Linked DNA regions of Homo sapiens: regions 2 and 3 are each linked to region 1. Evidence: promoter capture Hi-C in 16 types of primary human blood cells and fetal thymus (Javierre and others, 2016). All regions are on one chromosome and are shown on one strand. Each heading gives the region's core, a stretch centred on a gene start or on the middle of the fragment in contact. The rest is flanking DNA. Distances are from core to core; before and after follow the strand shown. Region 1 holds the start of MMP13 (matrix metallopeptidase 13). Region 2 overlaps MMP10 (matrix metallopeptidase 10). Region 3 has its middle 26 kb from the start of MMP8.

Region 1 (4,719 bases), core at 2,220-4,719:
AAATAAAATTCTTTAGGAGGGGAGCCCAGGAAATTAGGACTTGACTTTCAGATGTTATACTCCAGTAAGAACCAAAAATAATTTATTTTACTTCTTGTAAATTCTTTTAGTAACTTTTGTGGATCAACCCAGTATGAGTATGGCATCTCTGAAGAGCATATCATTCAAATGTTAAAAGTAAATGACCTCCTAAGTTACTCAACCTTTGCTTTGTAGCCACAGCATGTAAAATGAGCTCTTCTTTGTTTTGTTCCACACCTGTGGATGATGCCATGACTGCACAAAAGTAGTGTTTAAATTCAAATTTAGAAGAAATCTAGCTTTCCTTTTTTTTTTTTTTTAATGGCGCCTCCCTGTCTGCCCTAGGCTGTCCTCAAACTTCACCCCTGGGCTCAAGCAATCCTCCAACCTCAGCCTCCTGAGTAGCTGGGACTATAGACATGCCCTATGCCCAGCTAGTTCTCCTTTTTAAGACCATGTAAGCCCAGCTCATGAGGTTATGAAAAAAAAAGAGAAATCGGAAGGTAGAACTAAGCAACCATCAGAGAGTGTTTACAAAAAATTATTACTTCGTGCACTTGCAGAGTCAAATCACTTACATTTTAGAAAAATAAACACACCGCTAAGTGTCATCGACAATGAGTTTTTACTATACTCTAAACTGAAGCCAAAATCTTGATCTTAATCGTTCTTTTACTTAAAGATTTTTCATAATTTTAATCTAACTCAAATGGCCAATTGTTCATGTTATTCCTAGTCTGGGACCCCTCTGTGATTTAGTATCTGGCTGTTCATAGACATTTTTCGTTCCTGTTTGGGTGACGTTTTGAACTTGAAAACTGATGATGACCTATGTTTTAAAAAGTCCCATATTGCTAATGTCTGAATCAGCAGTAAATACATAATTCTAATTTAGTCCAGTTTTGTTTGTTCATTCTACAGGTTTTCAAATTTCCCAGTGATTTGGTAGACTTGTTAGAACCATTTTTAAATACCAGCTCAGCCCTATTGTGTTAAAGATGACATCTGAAACCACAAATCATTTCACAGTGGTAACCAGAAGGCTTGACTTTAACAGTTAACAACCTGATATAAGGACTTGCGTTGACAAGCAGTTTGCCAACACATTATGATGTGATGACACATCCCTATCACCATCTAAAAACACTTTTCCCTGAACAATATTCTATAAACGAGCAGTCTGATTATTTTCTTAATGAATTAATGTATTTTAATCTTTGGAGGAATTTTTATTTATTTCTACTTAAGAAAACTACAGAACATATAATAATATGTTCTCATTAACCTTTCTGTGTTTTTTCTTTTGCGCTGATTATGTTCTTAAATGGAATGAGAAACTAGTAAAATACTAAAGTTGTTTGATAATAAACTTTATTTTTAAAGTTGAAAAATAGTGGCATGTATTTATTTTCATTTGTTATTAAAAATGTTTTTTTTAATGGGGGAGGTAATATTGTAATGATCCTCAGAAAAAGGCCCTCATTTTAGCCTTCATTTCATTTCCATAGACACTAGCATGGTATCCTATATGGTTGATGCTCAATTAATATATTCATTAAATTGATAGATAAAAAAGCTTCTTTTCTTCTAGTTTGAAGTAGTAACATTTCTACAAATATGTGAAAATCTATAAGAACAGTTAGCCTATTTGATTCTTTTTCTCCACTTTCAAATGTTTAATAAAATGTTATTTGTTTTCCAGCTTCTTAAGCACTTCTTATCTAATGAGATTTTAATATATTATGAAAATTTATTTGTAAAAACAAATGCTTTCTAATAAACTAACTTTTATAAGCTTAGTCGATGAATCAAACTTTTTTGGATAATTTTTCACTTAATCTCAAAATTAAATATTATGATACATGGAAGCAACTTAAAATAAATTATTGCTTTGCATTCCTGATTGAGCACCAATCTAATCTTGAACTCACTGGAAACAATCTATTTGAAAGGGTATATTTGGCTGTATTTTGTTTGGATAAAGGCATATAGTAAATTTCCCTCAAATGATCACATACATGTTGTAGGCTTTTCTGATTTTTCTCTAAGGCACTGGCTACTCTAGATTATAGGATTTTACTCATATGTTAGGATACCCATTTCGTACTCACCCTAAAGCTGTATTCATGCTCCTTCTCTTTGTCTTACTATGTTCCTGACCTGAGCAGCATTTTCTTTCTGACTCTTAGTCACTCAAATTAACCTGCATTTCCAATCATTTATTTAAAGAAGTCCAATAAATCCAAAGATCATGGCCTATATTGCTCTACCCATTTACTTCTGCAGGGGACCAAAGATGGCACTTTGATTTCACGGTACTGAATGTGTGATGTTCTGAAAGGAATAATAGGGTAGAGGCCCCTAGGACTATTTTCCTGATGGTTGGACCAAGATTACTTCTATTATTCAAACTTAAAAATTGAGAAACTTGAAATTGGCCTACTGCAGCCCTAGTTTTCTTGGGCACTCCCTGAGGTGTAGGAACCAAACAGCTCAGCTTTTAAGAAAATATCTGAGAATGGAAAGGGTGGAGGTCATAATTAGACAGGGACGGTGGTCAAGAACATTGAGTTTTGAGTTATTGGCCTAGGTTCAAATCCTGGTATCATTTATAAACTATATGACCGTATACAAGTATTTAACTTCTCAGTGTATCAGATTATTCATATGTAAAATGGAAAACAAGCTTTCTGACAGCACCTATGTGGCTGTTGTAAGGATTAAATGAGATAATGCCTTTTAAACCTAGAATGCAGTAATCCCTGTTTGTGCTAGCCATTACAGTTGTTCCGTTCCAATGTAATTCTTCTACCTCTGTCTGAATCTGTAGGGAATTTATGCAGGACTCCATATTTGTCGAGAGGTCATGCCAGTGTGTTTAAATTCCAACCATGGGGCTCAATCCTGCGGTTGTGCCGTAGCACCTCCAAGTCATCAAGCTTGGTTTTGGTCCAATATCGTGAACTTCAGGTAGACACAAGACATCTCTCTGTAGTTATTCTAGAGAAAATGCAGTTTATAATTTACCAGGCAGTAGTAAACATTCTAGAATCAGTACTAAGTTTCTCTTTATGGAAGTAAACATGCCATCTTGATACACTTATTATTCGAAGAAGCAAAAGTAGATACGTTCTTACAGAAGGCAAAAAAAAAAAAATTTTGCTAAGTGAAGTAAAAAATGTACTACTCTCTGCTTCTTCCCACAGTATCCATAAATATGCTGAGGCCGTTTATTTTGCCAGATGGGTTTTGAGACCCTGCTGAAACAAGAGATGCTCTCATTTATATTTCCCTCAAATTCTACCACAAACCACACTCGGGAGGGAAAAGAAAAAGTCGCCACGTAAGCATGTTTACCTTCAAGTGACTGGGAAGTGGAAACCTATCCATAAGTGATGACTCACCATTGCAGGCCTATAAAAGTAAAGGTAATCTCTGCGGAAAGACAACAGTCCCCAGGCATCACCATTCAAGATGCATCCAGGGGTCCTGGCTGCCTTCCTCTTCTTGAGCTGGACTCATTGTCGGGCCCTGCCCCTTCCCAGTGGTGGTGATGAAGATGATTTGTCTGAGGAAGACCTCCAGTTTGCAGAGGTAGAGTATCTTGCCAATCCTGATGATGCGGTTGGTACATCTCAGAAATGTCCTTCTCTTTTAAACGCAGTTCATTTTGGTGTCTTTTCTAGCGCTACCTGAGATCATACTACCATCCTACAAATCTCGCGGGAATCCTGAAGGAGAATGCAGCAAGCTCCATGACTGAGAGGCTCCGAGAAATGCAGTCTTTCTTCGGCTTAGAGGTGACTGGCAAACTTGACGATAACACCTTAGATGTCATGAAAAAGCCAAGATGCGGGGTTCCTGATGTGGGTGAATACAATGTTTTCCCTCGAACTCTTAAATGGTCCAAAATGAATTTAACCTACAGGTAAATCATAGGCTATCTTTCTTTCATATTTGTTAGCCTTTTCTTGTAGTATTAAATGTCTAATATTAAGTAGGCCTTATTATTTAATTGGCAGTTAAATTCCAGAATAGCTTTAATATGGTTGCCGAGAATACCTCATAACATCTATTATTGTTACATTAACTCAGCATTATTTTTTAGTGGGCATCTCAAAGTATTTCTTTTAGAGATGAAATCAAAAGAGAAATAAAAGTAGGTTAAAGAAAATTTGCAAACATAGTACATTAGGTGTATTTATTACAACAGTGCTCAAGATGAAGAGTTCCACTCTTTCTAGAAACTTTACAGAGCTATTTCATTTATTTGAGCTTTATCAATGTAATCTAAACTTTTAGCATGCAAAATAAATTATATTAAACATTGGAATATTTTAAATTTAAGATGCCACATGGTCAGATATTTGGAGATACTCAAATGTGGCTGAATTTTTGACTTTTTATTCTTGTATGGCATCATAATTAATACATTATTTGAAACAATAAACCTCTAGTAGAACTTTCAAAGAAATTATTGCATTTTGAATTGAAAAGCAATATACCAAGAAAATGTATTCTAAAATAGCTGTCACTTTCCAAAAAGTTCATTGAAACTTTCTCTGTTAAATAGAATTGTGAATTACACCCCTGATATGACTCATTCTGAAGTCGAAAAGGCATTCAAAAAAGCCTTCAAAGTTTGGTCCGATGTAACTCCTCTGAATTTTACCAGACTTCACGATGGCATTGCTGACA
Region 2 (4,645 bases), core at 497-2,996, 180 kb after region 1:
AATGCTTCTCATTTGTCAATATAGGAAAAGTGTCTTAGTTTTCCTGACCAAGGAGGGATCTAGGGAGGGATACGGTGAAAAACTGTCTTATATATTGACTTAAAGTCAACCTTGAAAAACACATTAATTTCTATAAAGTATGGAATGTGCCAATCAATGAACCAATCCACAAATACTGAAAAGACATTGTGGTTTCAAGGATGGCCTGTACAGCTGGCATATGTTCTGTATGTGTATTTATGGAAGAAAGAGCTGGTGAATTCTGAACATTTATGATTTTCATACAGGCACCAATTTATTCCTCGTTGCTGCTCATGAACTTGGCCACTCCCTGGGGCTCTTTCACTCAGCCAACACTGAAGCTTTGATGTACCCACTCTACAACTCATTCACAGAGCTCGCCCAGTTCCGCCTTTCGCAAGATGATGTGAATGGCATTCAGTCTCTCTACGGTGAGTGATGCTGGAAAAATTAGGCATTGCAGATCTACAATGACAGTCCTCCAGAAAGCTTTCCAGTGCTACCTAAAGTATTTCTGATTTGGCCTGAAGCACTTTGAGAATGTTTGAAAGGCACACAAATTGACAGATGCATCACATTTTTTTTTAATGTTTGCATCCCCAAATCTGTTTCCTTTAGGACCTCCCCCTGCCTCTACTGAGGAACCCCTGGTGCCCACAAAATCTGTTCCTTCGGGATCTGAGATGCCAGCCAAGTGTGATCCTGCTTTGTCCTTCGATGCCATCAGCACTCTGAGGGGAGAATATCTGTTCTTTAAAGACAGGTCAGACCAGAAAATTATATTTTCCTATCTATTCTTTTGATGTACAGTGCTTAGAAAGAAAAACAGAAACTTGACAGAGCTTTTTTTTTAATTTTAGGTTCAGGGGTACATGTGCAGGTTTGTTATATAGATAAACTCGTGTCACAGGGGTTTGTTGTACAGATAATTTTGTCACCCCAGTACTAATCCTAGTACCCAGTAGTTACTTTTTCTGCTTGACAGAGATTTTTTAAAATATAAAATTTCCTCTACATTTTAAAATCATTCAGATCTAGTTCTTGCTGAATTTTTAACATCTTCTTAGAATTGTCCAGATCATTTTTTACAGACTTATAAGGGATGATTCTTGGTCCCTAGACTGTAAGTTTGATTAAGGCAGGGAGTTATATCTGTTTCGTTCATTTTTTTAAAATATCATATATCATGGAACTTCTTCAGAAAGCACTGGTGGATCCTTAGAAGCAGGGTGGTATCTTTCCATTTACTAATATATGCTACTATTTAAATTAATTACTTTTGGAAAAAAGTGATATGTGCTTGTGGCACAATATTTAAACACTACCAAAAGATACGGAGTTAAAAAATCTCTCTCCAGTCTTTGGCCTACCGTCCTCCAGCTCCCTTCATATGTGCAACCACTGCTACCAATTTCCTTTGACTCTTTACAAAAATGTTCTACTCATATACAAGCATCAATATACACATAATATTTTTTAAAATATTAGGACATAATATGCACACTGTTTATGGACTTTTAGAATGGAACCAAGCTAAATAATTTTACTGGAACCAGTCACAAGTCCTGCCATCGATTTCATTACCCTGGAATCACATGCAGGAGGATGGTTTAATACAGACTTCTATGAATGGGTGAATTAGCATGGATTTAAAAAAAAAGAATTTTTTTTTCACATATCTAAAAGAGAAAGACAATTGCAAGTAATTTTATGTATTACAGATATTTTTGGCGAAGATCCCACTGGAACCCTGAACCTGAATTTCATTTGATTTCTGCATTTTGGCCCTCTCTTCCATCATATTTGGATGCTGCATATGAAGTTAACAGCAGGGACACCGTTTTTATTTTTAAAGGTGAGTACTATATAAGAATTTCAACTTGCTGGAATAAATCCTATTGCAAAAATTTTATTGACATGAGTTTTATCCATTATATTAAAGTTTAGATTACTGAAAGACCTTGTGCTAACACTTAAATAAAATTTGTACAAAGAACATTATAAACTTTATTTTAGAGACCTCTTAAGAAAATAGGTGGCATTCCATATTCATAAAAAATGCAAGATAGTAAAAATGTCAATTTATCTATAGATACAAGACATTTTCATTTCAAATACCAAATGCCAAAAGATTTTTCATGGAACTTGACAAATTAGTTTTACAATTTATATGGCAGAGGAAAGGCCAAGAATAGCCAGGATGCTCCTGGTGAACCCATCTTATTAGATGAGGAGAAAAGCCCTGTGTTATAAAACTTTAATCGGTAAGATGTAGTATCAGTGCAGGGAGAGATAAATTAACTAATGGAGATATTCAGGTATAGAGGCTTCTTTATCAGACTTTTAAACTACTGTTTCAATTTGTTTTATTGGTAATATGCTATTAGAGTTTCTATTACTTCTTGAGTCAGTTTTGTTAACATGTTTTTCTAAAAATTTGCCAATTTTGTCTGTTTTCAAATCCATCAGAAAAAGTTTTTGGAAAATTATTTTGTTGTAATTTGAATTATTGCTGAAGTTTTGTTTTCTTTTTCATTCTTAATACTGAATCCTTTTGCCTTTCTCTTTTTTCTTCATCAATCTCATAATATATGTAATAATTTTACTGATCTTTTCAAAGGACTGACTTTTGGCTTTATTTACTCTCTATATTATATTTTGATTTCCCGTTTAATTAGTTTCTGTTCATATCTTTATTGTTGCCTTAATTTTTGTTTACTTTGAATTGATCCTGTTATTATTGTTATAGCTTAAGTTTGATACTTACCTTATTAACTTGTAACTTTTTTCTTTTCTAATACAAGCATTTATACCTATAAATAACCATTTCTTCTGTTTCATCCAGCAAATTTCGATATGCAGTATTTTCATTTTGTTCAATTTTAATTCTTTAATTTCTCATTTTTATTTTTTCCCTAGACTCATAGGTGATAATGGAATATTTTTAAATGTCAAGCTTTATGGAGATTTTAAAAATATTTATTTCTGGCAATCTCACTTATGTGAAGATCAAATGAATGTGAAATTGCAGTAGAAATTGTAAAGGATTACATAACTCTAACGTATTGTTATCAAGTAATGTATCTCACATTTACATATCACTTGCACTGTGTCAGACGCCATTCTCATTGGTGGAGGTCAGGACTGAAAAGGGCTCATATTCTAGAAGGGGCAGCAGAGATGAAGCCTTTGGCAGCCTACATATGACAAGTGCTGGGACTGAGAGAAGGAAGGGTGCCATGGGAGCACCTGACTCATACCCAGGACTCAGCAAAGATCCCTTAGGGGAGGTGATGTTAGGATGGGTCTTAAAGTTCTCTATTGTTGTGCAGAGATGGGCTGGGTGTACAGAAAGTAGAAAGGTCTTTAAGAAAGAAGAAATTGTTTTTACCAAGTAAGAGCATATCTGGAACTGCTCAGACAGATACAAGTCATTCGGTTCAGACGAAGCAAGAGAGATAAACAACAGATGGACATTTTAGATTAGTGAATCTGGCAGTGAGTGCGAAGAAGGAATTCAGGCTTGGGGTCTGGGAGAGTGATGTAACAAAGTAAATGCAGAGAGATTGATGGGATTTTATTGTCCTAACTCACTAGAATTTGAATGAATTCCGATAGTGTTCACAAGAAGCACAGATTGGAATTGGTGACTGTGAAATATCTCAAAGGAAGTGTCCAATAAGCAACTGATCTATTGGTATGAAACTTAAGAGAGAGAGGTCTAGGTGAGAAATTCAGGTTAAAAGTTTACCAACAATTATAAGAAATAACTAAAACTGATCTATAAATAAACTATAACATATAGATACAAATATATAAGACACAGAAAGGGCAGTGAATCAGAGTTATCTACTCATTTATTCATTCATTCATTCACTCGCTCATTCAGGGAGTATTTATTAAGGACTGGCTGTGAACTGGACATTATTAGGTTGGAATTAAAACCAAGCCTTCCTCTTTACCACAACAATGCACTATAATTATTTTTAAAATCAATGGCTTCAAGTAAAATGTCTTGGATTTATTTTTTCAATAGGAAATGAGTTCTGGGCCATCAGAGGAAATGAGGTACAAGCAGGTTATCCAAGAGGCATCCATACCCTGGGTTTTCCTCCAACCATAAGGAAAATTGATGCAGCTGTTTCTGACAAGGAAAAGAAGAAAACATACTTCTTTGCAGCGGACAAATACTGGAGGTGAGATGCAAGAGAAATGACTTTCTATGAAGCCTGATTAAGAAAATTATTTTCTTTCTTTAAGGATATTTCCCTACCCTACACCCACCCTCTAACTTTCTCTAACTTCAAAATTTATGATTATGAGGAAGACAGCTTATTGTTCTACCTTCCGGATACAAAGGCCTCTCAGAATGGTGATCACTGGGCCATATACTCAGACACTAAAAGACATCAGGAGAGGCCAGCTGAGGTCCAAAGGCATTCACCTCTTATTCCATTTCCAGTCACCATGTGGCTGCCATAGGAAGCCCAGGTGTGGCAGGCTTTGGAGACAGGATCTACAGGGTCCCAGTGTGACTGAGAACCAGAGGTTTATTTTTAGCTAAGTGATTTAATTAATTTTGCATTATGAATTCATTATGTCTACACAGTCTTTATGTATTTAT
Region 3 (4,352 bases), core at 1,493-3,992, 210 kb after region 1:
AGGTAACTATTTTGTCTCATTTCATAAAAATGTAAGAGAATAATATTTCTTCAAGCTGTGTAATTTTACTGACAAAAATACATTACTCTAAAATTTTTACTAGAATGTTTAATATCATATCATTATGTACATTTGTCAACTATTCAGTGCTTTGAAAATATTCAGGTTTTTGGATTTTGCATGCATAAAATGTAAGGACACTAGACCCTATCACAGTGCAAAATAAGTAACTTAAAGGAGTTTATTTGAGAGGCTGAGGTGGGTGGATCACTTTTAGGCCAGGAGTTCAAGCCCAGCCTGGCCAACATGGTGAAACCCTGTCTCTACTAAAAATACAAAATTAGCTGGGCATGGTGGCGTGTGACTGTGGTCCCAGCTACTCAACTTGGGAGGCTGAGGCACGAAAATCACTTGAACCAGGAGGCAGACGTTGCAGTGAGCCAAGATCGCACCACTGCACTCCAGCCTAGGGGACAGAGTGAGACTCTGTCTCAAGAAAATTTAAAAAAAAATTAAAAACTGGTTTAAATAAGCAAAGAATCTTGAAGCATACTAGCATAAGGTGTATATCTTGCCAATAAGGAGGATTTTTAAAAATATGAAGTTTCAAACTGCCTTTCTATGAGGTGGTAACTTCTATTTGTGCAGAGATACTCTGGCTTCATGATGTAAGATGAACTGACATTCTGGAGTAACCAAATGAACAAATACAGAATCCTTTGTCTGGAGTCAGCCTGGTCGAAAGCTCAGATATGTCTTCTGCAGAAGGTGTCCATCTGCCTCCCACCCTTGTAGTCCTGCAGGGTGCCCACCACACACACACACACCTGTGTAGCTTGAGAAGTAACCCAATTATACTAAGAAGAAAGGTCTTCTCGAGTGCACCTTACATTGGAATAAAACTCTCCATCCACTTCTCGTGAAGCAAATGTCTGGAGGAAATTCTGTCTAATATCTACTAGACTCCAGGCAAATCTTTTCATGGCCGATTTTTTGTTGACAGGCAGTAAGCACTGGGTCGTTCAGGAGGATCAACTGCTGAGTGGCTACCCCAGGGACGTCTACAGCTCCTTTGTCTTCCCTGAAAGGGTGAAGAAAATTGATGCTGCCATTTATGAGAAGGACACTGGAAAGACACATTTCTTTGTTGCCAATGAGTATTGGAGGTAAAGACCTACCCTCAGAAAACTTGGGAAATCAGATCACTCTGGTGGAAGGAGAGTTGCCTTTTAAAATTTTTCTCAAATTTCACTGAAACTTTCCTTTTTTCTGAGAATGAATGCAGCCAGGCCCACAGCCATTCAGTCCCCTACCTGTTATCACACTGCTGCCTAGCAAGGCAAGGAACTTGTTGGCTTGCATTTGAAAAGGAGATAAAGAGCAGAACACACAAAGGGGACTAGAGGCATCCAAAAAGGAGAAAATGAAGCATTTCTCCTTGATAGGACAGAACATGGAGCCCAAGGGAAAATTTGAATCAGATTTTTATGGTTGAGAATAACTTAGAGTTTGTCTAGTTTGCCCCACTCTCCCTCCCAGTTAAAATTTCTTAATAGTTTCATGCCAACAATGTACCCACCCATAATTTTTAAAAGCAGCCATCGGGGTTTTGCAAAATTGAGGCACAGACAGTACCTACCTCTCAGATTTGTTGTGAGAATTAAATGAATCTTCATATGAAAAGCACTTAGGACAGTGATTAGTACATGGAAAGTTCTACATGAAAGTTAAGTGTTTTTTATTGTTTTTATATTAACCACAATGTGATATTTTTAGTTATTTTTTGTTACCAGGTATGATGAAAATATGCAGTCCGTGGATGCAGGTTATCCCAAAATCATTGATGACCTCCCCGGAATTAGTAAAAAAAATTGACCTGTTTTGAAAAATAAAGGTAAAGACCATTCAATTTCCTCATTTCACTATCATAAAATTACACATTTAGTGTTACATAGATAAGACAGTAAACTGTGTACACAAAAATATGATATTTTCAAGAGTTCATGTGAAAAATCATTATCTAGTTTCTTTTATTTCTAGGTTTTTTCTATTTCTTTTGTAGAAGAAGGCAGTATGAATGTAATCCTAAAATGAAGCAAATTTTGACTCTCCTGAAAGCTAACATCTGGTTCAAGTGCAGAAATAACTGATGGTTGACTATCACCAAACAGAAAATAAAAAGTATTTTTAATGAGCCCAAAATATGTTCTTTTCTAAGAAACCAGGTATTTCAGTATTTTATTTCAGTCTCTTGGTAACACAAGGCAGAGACATAGAAATACAATCTTATTTAACTTCAATCTGAACATATTCTATGTTAGCTAGAATATATTGCTTCATGAACTTATATAAGTTAGTTTTAAGCAAGTACTAAGGGTTGTCAATCAAGGTCATCCTTAGGTTTTCACAGAAAAAAGCTTTTTACTAGAGTCCAAGACTCTGACTTTAACCTGAGCAGCTGCACATATGGGATGCATATCTCAATCCACCCAAGACAATAACAGCCCTCAGTTTCAACAAAGAAAAAACAGCGTAAAACTGTATCATCCTTACATGTACATGGCAACACTGTCACATATTAAAGAAAACAGACACTTAAACTTCGTATAAAAAATAAAGTGGCTGGGCACAGTGCCTCACGCCTGTAATCCCAGCACTTTGGGAAGCTGAGGCAGATAGATCACTTGAGGTCAGGAGTTCAAGACCAGCCTGGCCAAAATGATGAAACCCCATCTCTACTAACAAAAAATACACAAATTAGCCGGGTGTGGTGGCAGGCACCTGTAATCCCAGCTACTTGGGAGGCTGAGTCACAAGAATCACTTGAACCCAGGAGGTGAAGGTTGTAGTGAACCAAGATCGCGCCACTGCACTCCAGCCTGGGCAGTAGAGTGAGATTTAGTATATATATTTTAAAAAGGTAACTTTTATCAACATATAATATGAATACAGAAAAGCCATGTATCATAAGTATATAGCTGATGACTCTTCACAACACAACCAAGTAACCAGCACACAAAAGAAAATTGCCAGTATCCCCAAATCCCTTCTCCAGGTACTAAGCTTTCTAAGGGTAACTACTATCCTAACTTCTAATCTAATACCATAGATTAGCTTTATCTCTTTCAGTACTTAAAATAAATGGAATTATACATTATATACCTTAGTATCTGACTTCTGTCACTCAACATTATATTTATGAGATTCATCAATATATTTTTATGTAATTTTTGATCATTTATTCTCTTTGCTGTAGAGTTTCCATTGAGTGAATAATTTCCCACAATTTATCTCTCCAGTCTATGTTGAAGGACATATAAGTAGTTTCCAATTTGGGGCTATTACAAATAGTCTTCAGGGGAAGCAGAGCAAGATAGTTGAATAGAAGCTTCCAATAGTTGTCCTCACACCCCCGCAAGAACACAAAATTGAACAACTATTCACACAAAAAAGCAACTCCATAAGAACCCAAAATCGGGTGAGCAATCACACTACCTGGTTTTAACATCATATTAAGGAAAGAGGCACTGAAAAGGGTAGGAAAGACAGTCTTGAATGACCTACACCAGCCCTCTCCTATCCCCCTGCAGTGATCATATGGCATGAAGAGAGAATCTGCACTAGGGGAAGAGGGAGTGTACAGTGATTGTGAGACTTTGCATTGGAACTTAGTGTTGCCCTGTCATTAGTGTTGCAACACCAGGCAGAATTCAGTCAGCTCTTATGGAGGAAGAGAGAGAGAGAGAGAGAGAGAGACTCAATTTGGTGGGTAGGGGGGTGGGGGGGAAGTCAGGAAAGAGAAGAAGAGTCTCTGCCTGGTCATCCAGGGAATTCCTCTAGATCTTACCTAAGACTACCAAGCTGGTACATCTGTGGGTCTACAAGAGCCACAGGTTTACTGGGCTTGGGGTGCCCCCTAAAGCACATATGGCTGCTGTGACCAAAGACTTAGATCATAACAACCAAGTTGCTTGGAATACCTGGAAAGCCTTCCCAAAAAGGACAGGTACAAACAAGTCCAGACTAAAAAGACTATGATAAATACCTAACTCTTCAATGCCCAGACACTGATGAACATCTGTAAGCATCAGGATCACCCAGAAAAACACTACTTCACCAAACAAACTAAATAAGGCACCACAGACCAATCCTGGAGAGACAGAGATATGTGACCTTTCAGACAAAGAATTTAAAATTGCTCTTTTGAGGAAGCTCATCAAAATCCAGGATAACATGGAGAAGGAATTCAGAATCCTATCAAATAAATTTAACAAAGACATTGAAATAATTACGTGGAATCAAGCAAACATTCTGAAACTAAAAAATGCAATTGACATGCTGAAGAATGCATC

Evidence for each region. The method cuts DNA at HindIII sites, captures the fragments that hold promoters and counts their contacts. A CHiCAGO score of 5 or more calls a contact.
Region 2: a fragment that was not itself captured here is called in contact with the fragment with the promoter of MMP13 in region 1 in 1 of 17 cell types (monocytes); the score reaches 5.1 in monocytes.
Region 3: a fragment that was not itself captured here is called in contact with the fragment with the promoter of MMP13 in region 1 in 1 of 17 cell types (endothelial precursors); the score reaches 5.3 in endothelial precursors.

What each region holds. Positions count from the first base shown.
Region 1 is chr11:102,954,482-102,959,200 of GRCh38, reverse strand. It overlaps MMP13 (matrix metallopeptidase 13), which reads left to right and starts at 3,469. Exons shown (of 10, transcript NM_002427.4): 1 at 3,469-3,615; 2 at 3,708-3,949; 3 at 4,595-4,719. The coding sequence starts at 3,496. RefSeq lists an enhancer at 2,837-4,036. The HindIII fragment of the contact is 7,221 bases long and covers 2,963-4,719 here.
Region 2 is chr11:102,772,419-102,777,063 of GRCh38, reverse strand. MMP10 (matrix metallopeptidase 10) reads left to right here. Exons shown (of 10, transcript NM_002425.3): 5 at 288-452; 6 at 640-784; 7 at 1,743-1,876; 8 at 4,058-4,217. Among named protein-coding and RNA genes, the nearest start is that of MMP10, 5.9 kb to the left of the region's middle. The HindIII fragment of the contact is 2,467 bases long and covers 513-2,979 here.
Region 3 is chr11:102,748,865-102,753,216 of GRCh38, reverse strand. No RefSeq gene overlaps it. Among named protein-coding and RNA genes, the nearest start is that of MMP8, 26 kb to the right of the region's middle. RefSeq lists an enhancer at 1-744. The HindIII fragment of the contact is 646 bases long and covers 2,420-3,065 here.